Regions from separate parts of the Homo sapiens genome. Here region 2 is linked to region 1. Evidence: promoter capture Hi-C in human tissues and cell types (Jung and others, 2019). All regions are on one chromosome and are shown on one strand. Each heading gives the region's core, a stretch centred on a gene start or on the middle of the fragment in contact. The rest is flanking DNA. Distances are from core to core; before and after follow the strand shown.

The links. The method cuts DNA at HindIII sites, captures the fragments that hold promoters and counts their contacts. A contact is called where the count stands out against the background at its distance.
Region 2: a fragment that was not itself captured here is called in contact with the fragment with the promoter of EHD4 in region 1 in 1 of the 25 tissues and cell types used here (spleen).

The regions. Positions count from the first base shown.
Region 1 is chr15:41,970,127-41,973,867 of GRCh38, forward strand. EHD4 (EH domain containing 4) reads right to left here and starts at 2,431. Exons shown (of 6, transcript NM_139265.4): 1 at 2,133-2,431. The coding sequence starts at 2,368. PLA2G4E-AS1 (PLA2G4E antisense RNA 1) reads left to right here and starts at 2,637. Exons shown (of 4, transcript NR_120334.1): 1 at 2,637-2,872; 2 at 3,678-3,741. RefSeq lists an enhancer at 1-110 and silencers at 1,873-2,142, 2,243-2,312, 2,353-2,482. The HindIII fragment of the contact is 6,706 bases long and covers 1-3,741 here.
Region 2 is chr15:40,965,751-40,969,598 of GRCh38, forward strand. All of the region lies in intron 3 of LOC105370789 (a long non-coding RNA gene), which reads left to right. Among named protein-coding and RNA genes, the nearest start is that of CHAC1, 14 kb to the left of the region's middle. RefSeq lists an enhancer at 2,343-2,994. The HindIII fragment of the contact is 7,984 bases long and covers 1-3,848 here.

The DNA of each region.
Region 1 (3,741 bases), core at 1,181-3,680:
GTAGCTGCCCTTTTGTTTGGGGATTTCCTCCCGGGTGCTAAATCACTTCCTCCTAGCTCCAATCTGAAAAGCAATTCAGGTCTCCTGTGGCCTCACCAAGCTTCCTGCCCACACTGATTTTCTTCTAACCTCACTGGTCTACCTTGTGTACATCACCTAACAACAAAGCCACTTAGCTCAAGGAAAGCCTCAAGAACAAATGGCTTCCTAATAAGGTGATTCCTCCCTCACCCTAGGGTGGCCCACAGCTCCAGCACCTGCTGAGAGGTGGCCAATTTGGATGAGGTAGCTGCCAGGAATCAAATCTCAGAACCCTTCATAAAACTGCGCTTAGCTATTCCACAAATTTCTCCAAATAATGAAACAGAGAGAAGAGTGAGAATATAATGAGAGAGAAATCTGGAAAAATACAAAAGATAAATTCATGTTCCTGTGAGTTGTATTCATCTTCCTGGGAGTTGATAATCAGGCTGGCTAGCTATCCAGTCTATGGGAGCAGAGAGAGGGCTGCATTATCTCCAGGTTGGCACAGCATCTAGCAGGGGCTCCCTGATGACACCTGGGCACAACAAGGACCTCACAGCAAAGACAAACAGGAGGAAATGCCTAGGGTGTGGGGACATGCCACCACTAAATTACAAAAATATATGCCTTTCTTCTTTGTATGTTTCAACAGTACCGCTTCCCACTCTTGTACCACTTGGCCATAACACTTTATTATCCCTAGTACCTAAAAACTAGACAGTATTACTGAGACCTTAAATGTGACATTTGTCATCTTTCAAGGTGCCAGTTACTGTAATACAGCTATGGTTCATTTTGAGTGTCTGGGTGACGGTGACATATTTAATTCTATTTTTGTCTTGTCCATAAGCACCAAATAAAGCAATTTTGAAATTACTTTCTTCACACTCAATTTATTATCTAGAACGACATTTCAATACACAGTATATTTGTTTTGTGGAATTCATTCGCAGTGTATCTGGAGGCCTGGATTTAACATATTTCCTGTAGTGATAGCTACTCTATTTGTAGGAACTATTTAGGTCACTGGAGTGGAGAAAAAGAGGTCGCTACTTAACAGAAATGGCATGTATCCAAATATAGATGCAGTTTTCTCAACACCTGTTGCACATCAAATGATGAAGAGATTGTTACAATTTCCAAAACCCTGGACCAAAACCTTAAATGATCAGCACTTTGTTTCAACTGATACACGGCTTAAGTCAGAAAAATAAGTTCTTCTTACCAAAAACAGTGAGCCTAAATATGCTGGCTGCTTTAGAAATAAAACAGGTGATCAACAAAGCAATCTGTTTCTGTCTAAATAATTTCCCAGCAAAAGTCACTTCTTTTGAAACTATATGATTTGAACCACAGGGTATGCACAGTGATTGTGTGCTTTCAGAAACACGGTAAGCATGACAAATATTTTCAGTTGTCAAGGGTAAGCGAGGAGGGAATGACCCACCTAAGAAATGGAAACTAACAAATAGTAATATGACACTCCCCCTTAGTTCCACAGGCTGGTGCGGCTGCTACACGCAGCTCACTTCCTACGGGCGGCTAAAGGCGGTGCATGAACTGAACGTAGGCGGCCTCTTTATCCCCTCCCCACAACACTGTGGGGTGGCACGTAAAGACCTCAAGGGAAGGGGGCCTGGGCGATACGCTCTCCTGCTGCCATTCATTTGTTCAAGAAATAGTTGAACAAATGAATAGTTAAACAAACTCTCCAACTAGGACTCTGTCCCATTCGGATACCCTACGCCTCTCCCCCCATTTCCATCCCTAGGCATCACTCCCTCGTCAAGAATATGCTGATTATGGCTCGCGCCCCCTCTCTCCCTTGGACCCTCCCGCCAGGGCGACCGGACGAGGCCAGCGGGAGCAACGCCTTCCGAACCGCAAGGAAGGAGGGCTCGGAGTGCGCAGGGCGCGGGTTCGCGGGACCCTCCAGCGCGCGGGGCTGGCCAGCCGGGGCGGGGCCGAGGGCACCGGGCGCCGAGCTCCGGGAGGGGTCCCCGAGGTCGCGCCGGCCGGGAGGGGCAGCGGCGGGAGGCGGCCGACTGCGGCGCACACGTGGGGAGGGCGGAGCGGGGCGGGAGCCGGGCGAGGGGCGGTGACGGTACCTGATGAAGGTGGTCTTGCCGGTGCTGTACTGGCCCACCAGCAGGATCATGGGCTTGTTCTCGAAGTCGGCGTCCTCCAGCGCAGGCGAGTGGAACTCGTGGAAGCGGTACGCCTCCTCCAGCGGCAGCACCTTGCGCAGGTAGAGCGAGCGCAGCCCGCCCGTCACCGTCTGCACCGCGTCCGCGCCGCCAGCGCGTTCGCGCCCGCCCGCCTGCCGCCCCATCCAGCTGAACATCCTGCCGCCAGTCCACGCTCGGATGGGACCCTGCTCCGGGTTCGACTCTCCCCGGCTCGCACTGAGCCGCCCCGGCCGCGCTGGCCGCCGCCCGAGGAGGGCCCCGCCTTGTGCTGCCACAGCCAGTCTTCGGCCGCTACGTCACGCGCGCTCGCCCACTATTCAGACGAGCTCTCTCAGGTCCTTCCTGATTGGATCTCTGCCAGAGAGGGCTGAAGGCGTCAGCCAATTGAGAGGAGGTTCTTAATGAATTATTGATGACGGAGTCATTCTAGAGGACTGGGCGGGGAGATGGTGTCTTCCCGGCCGGGTGGCACTGACCGGTCATGCTCAGGGCCCCCTTCTGGTTGCCGGTGCCTCACCTCTGGCCAGGTGGCATCGGCTTCCGGGTAAATCTGAGCTGCCCAAAGCGAGCCTCCGGAGGCTGCTCCATCTCCTGGAACGTTTACTCATTCAGGCCTCTGGACGTCGATACTGGGGATGAAAAGTTCAGAAAGTGGACAGGCAGGTTCTGTCTTCCCGGGGGCGGGTGGTTATGACTCCGTTTTACAGGCCAAGAGACCCAGGCTCACGGGCATAATTGACACAATCTTGAGGGGAAGTGGACTGGAATCTATTTGAGTAGCCGTTTCTCCTACTTCTCCACATTGCCCTCACTAAATTCTGGATCAGCTAAAGGCTTTTTCCCCTTAGTTTTCTTTATGTGTTTTTCTGTAAAGCCGAAAATTTAGTCATTACTCTCATTATTACATTATCCTCATTATTACAACTTTATTTCCACATATTGACATGTGAGTCATTGTCACCTCCTAGCTGTTTTTTGTTGTTGTTGTTGTTTTCTGAGACGGAGTCTCGCTCTGTCGCCCAGGCTGGAGTGCAGTGGCACGATCTCGGCTCACTGCAACCTCCGCTTCCCGGGTTCAAGCAATTTTCCTGTCTCAGCCTCCTGAGTAGCTGGGACTACAGGCGCTCACCACCATGCCCAGCTAATTTTTGTATTTTTAGTAGAGATGGGGTTTCACCATATTGGTAAGGCTGGTCTTGAACTCCTGACCTCAGATGATCCGCCTGCCTTGGCCTCCCAAAGTATTGGGATTATAGGCGTGAGCCACCGCCCCTGGCCTGTTTCTTTTCTAGGTTAAAAGGATACTCACTTATCTAAGTTGAGATTGGGGGAAATAATCACCTTTTGTGTCCTTGATTGTAGCTTAGGAATATTTCTTAGTTGTTTTAGAGCATTTCTCAAGTGTGATCCATGGGGCCACCTGCATATATGCATTTATGAGCTGGGATGCTTGTTAAAATGCAGATTCCTGGTCTTCAGTCCAGACCTACTGAGTTAAAATATTGAGGAGAGATGGAGCTCAACAGAT
Region 2 (3,848 bases), core at 937-3,436, 1.0 Mb before region 1:
CCTCCCAAGTAGCTGGGATTACAGGTGCACACCACCATGCCCAGGTGTTTTGTATTTTTAGTAGAGACGGGGTTTCACCATGTTGGCCAGGCTGATCTCAAACTCCTGGCCTCAGGTGATCCGCCTGCCTCAGCCTCCCAAAGTGCTGGGATTACAGGCGTGTGAACCATTGCACCTGGCCTAGTGTTGTATTCTTGGTGGCCAGCTCAAAGCCTGGCTTGTCTTAGGCCCTTGAAAGATTTATTTGCTCAATAAATAAATGCTAAATGAGTTGAATGGAATGAATGAATGAACTGCACTTACTTAGCAGGGCAAATAAGGTAGACTGGGTTGGAGGGACAGAGGGAAGTGTGGGAGGAGGCAGGGAGCAGAAATGCCGCGCGGGCTGCGGCAGGAGGGAAATAAGGAAAAAAACAACTAAGGGCAGTGAGACAAGGCCACTTCCCAATCCTTCCTGGGCGAGATGCCTTGCAGGGGCCCCTGTGTCTGAGCCGTCTCCCTGGTCATGCTCTCCTCCACTTCTCACACCCCCTGGCGGGTCAGCAGGCGGAGGAAGGAGGGCTGGCTGCAGCCAGGCCATTCTGGTTTGTTTACCAACAGCACAATCCTCCTGGGTCATGACACAGTCAGCAGCATCTGACCCAGTTAAATATATCTGCTCTACTGGCCTGGACCACACAGCCAGCCCCTGCAGGCCATGTAGACCAGGGACCACCTGCTTATCCTTCTGGCTTGGCGCTGGGCCACCTCCTGACCCCAGAGCCCTGTGTCCCCAGGGAGCAAATGGCTGATCTGGGTCTAAACTAAACTGCAGTCTCTAGTTGAACTCATGTAGATAGTTTCATCTTGGACAGAATCGGAGAATTTAAGAGGAGAAAACTATTTGTCCAGCAGTAAACAATAAAATGGTTCATCTCCCTTGGACGGCATATTTGCAGTCATGAATGTTTATGAAGAGTATTTGCTAATGTTAAGAAACATTTTAATCTCTTTACATAACTATTAATGTTATTACTGTAGTGTTAAGTGGGACAAAAAGCATACAAAATTAGACATATAACGTGAGTGTAATCCTGTTTTTTAAAAAGCATGTAAATGTGTCTGGAAGGAATCTTAAACTGTCAACATAATTTGCCTCCCAGGAGGGGAACCGGGCTCCAGGGGATGGGATGGGAGAGAGACTTTCTTTTTATGCCCTTTTGTATGTTTTTAATTTTGAACTGTGCAAGTTTATCATGTATTCATAAGTAGAGAAGTAAAAAAATAGATCTGACAAAAAGCTTTTATGCCAAAAAGAGAAGGTCCACAAATAACACTCAGAGGGTAAAGAGGTGCTCACTTTGGTGATGGGCGGTGAAGAGGGGCTCCCTTCTCTACCGAGAGAAAAGCTGGTCCTATGCCCAGATAAACCAAAACATCAGCCTTACAAACCGGTGCAAGTGATTATCAAAGCTCAGCATCTGAGGCATAACAAAGACATACCTGCTTTAAAATATTTCCCCATGGCGCCTTAAATTGCAGCCTTTGGAGTCATTCCTTAGTCTGAAGTACAGCTTCTCCAAAGTCTCCTTGCAAACATTCAGGGGTAGCGGGGGTTACCATGTTATCTTTGTTTAGTGTTATATTATTTTTTGAGATGGAGTCTTGCTCTCTGGCCCAGGCTGGAGTGCAGTGGCATGATCTCAGCTTACTGCAACCTCTGCCTCCCAGGTTCAAGCTATTCTTCTGCCTCAGCCTCCTGTGTACCTGGGATTACAGGTGCTGCCGCCATGCCCGGCTAATTTTTTTGTATTTTTAGTAGAGACGGGATTTCACCATGTTGGGCAGGCTGTTCTGGAACTCCTCACCTCCAGTGATCAGCCTACCTCAGCCTCCCAAAGTGCTGGGGTTACAGGCATGAGCCGCCGTGCCTGGCCATGTTATTTTATCACATGAACTGAATTGAAATAGGGAGACACACTATAAGAAAGTTTTAACTGGTGTCTCACTCCTGTAATCCCAGCACTTTGGGAGGCCAAGATAGGAGGATCACTTGAGCCCGTGAGTTTGAGACCAGTTTGAGCAATACAGTGAGACCTTAGCTTTACAAAAAAAAATTTTTTAAAAAGTTCTGATTGAAGTCATTTCTTGTTTTTGAGTTTTCTTAATTTTCCCTAAAAATATAAACTTTCTCTTAATAGCACTGATTATAAAATAGCACATGATCAAGTAGCAAATTTGGAAAATACAGAATGTTATAAAGAATTTAAAAATCAGGCATGGTGGCTCACACCTATAATTCACGTACTTTGGGAGGCAGAGGTAGGAGGATCACTTGAGTCCAGGAGTTCAAGGACCAGCCTGGGCAACATGGCAAAACCCTGTCTCTTAAAAAAAAAAAAAAAAAAAAAAAAAAAAATCAGCTGGGCATGGTGGAAGGCACCTATAGTCTCAGTTACTCAGAAGTCTGAGGTGGGAGGATCACTTGAGCCTGGGAGATTGAGGCTGCAGCGAGCCAAGATCATGCCGCTGTACTCCAGCCTAGGCGACAGAGTGAAACCCTGTCTCAAGAAAAAAAAATTTAAAAATTGAACCATGTGCATCACATCCCTGAGGGAGCACTGAGCCTGGCACATTCCAAGAGAAAAAAAAATGTTAGATAGCAGGGTCGCAGGCTAAAGTTGCAAGGCCTGAGGATCCCATTAGTTCTGCAGCCTTTGTTGAGCCCAGCAGGAAACCACTAAGGACTTGGAAGAACAGTGACAGAAGTGTTTTTTGTTTGTTTACATGCCGGGTCTTGCTATTGTTGTCCAGGCTGGTCCTGAACTCCTGGCCTCAAGCAATGCTTCCACCTCAGCCCCCCAAGTATCTAGGATTACAGGGAAAAGCCACTGTGCCTGGCTCAGTGACAGGTTTTTAAAAGAACACTTGAGCTGGGCCGGGCACAGTGGCTCACACCTGTAGTTCCAGCACTTTGAGAGGCTGAGGCAGGAGGATGGCTTGAGCTCACAAGTTCAAGATCAGCCTGGGCAACACAGATCCCATCTCTACGTTTTTTTTTTTTTTTTTAAATTAGCCAGGTATGATGTCGCACCCTTGTAGTTCCAGCTACTCAAGAGGCTCAGGTAGGAGGATCTCTTGAGCCTGGGAGGTCAAGGTTACAGTGAGTCGTGATCATGTCACTGCACTTCAGCCTGGGTGACAGAGTGACATCCCTGTCTCAAAAGACAACACTTGAGCTGTAGATTGTATCACGATAAGAGGTATCCATTATGCTTGGAGAAATTTAAAAATGAGATAAAGGGTATTCTGGAATAGGCTGTTCATATGTACTAGAAATAGAAAGGAATATGAGAAGTAGGATATGCTAGAAATACAGAAATAAAATGACATAAAAGAACTTAGAAATCATTCATAATTCCACCATCTAGGAAAGCTGACTTCCTTCTAGTGCTCCCTCTTTGTGCCCTACTTTTCTCCTAAGAGTATATTCTGAGCATTTTCCCATGATACCAAATATTCTTGAGAATGATTTTTAATGACCACCTAATCATTCTATCATATAGATATGCAAACATTTATTTCACCAGTCCTATGTTGTGAGGCTTTTGGGTTGTCTCAATTTTTTGCTAGGTTCAATTATGCTGTCACGGACTTTTCGTCCAAGTTGCATGTAACGGAAAACCGAGTTCAAACAAGCATGAAGCAAACAGGAGTCAGTGGTGAAACCCAACAGTTAAGAGGAAGGGAGCTTTGGGTAAGGCTCAGTCAGGGATCCTGCTCCATTTCCCTGGAGTTTGCCCTTCTCTGTTGGCAGTGGTGCCCTCAGGCTGGCTCCTCTGCAGCCCTTGGGTGATAAACTTTTCTGT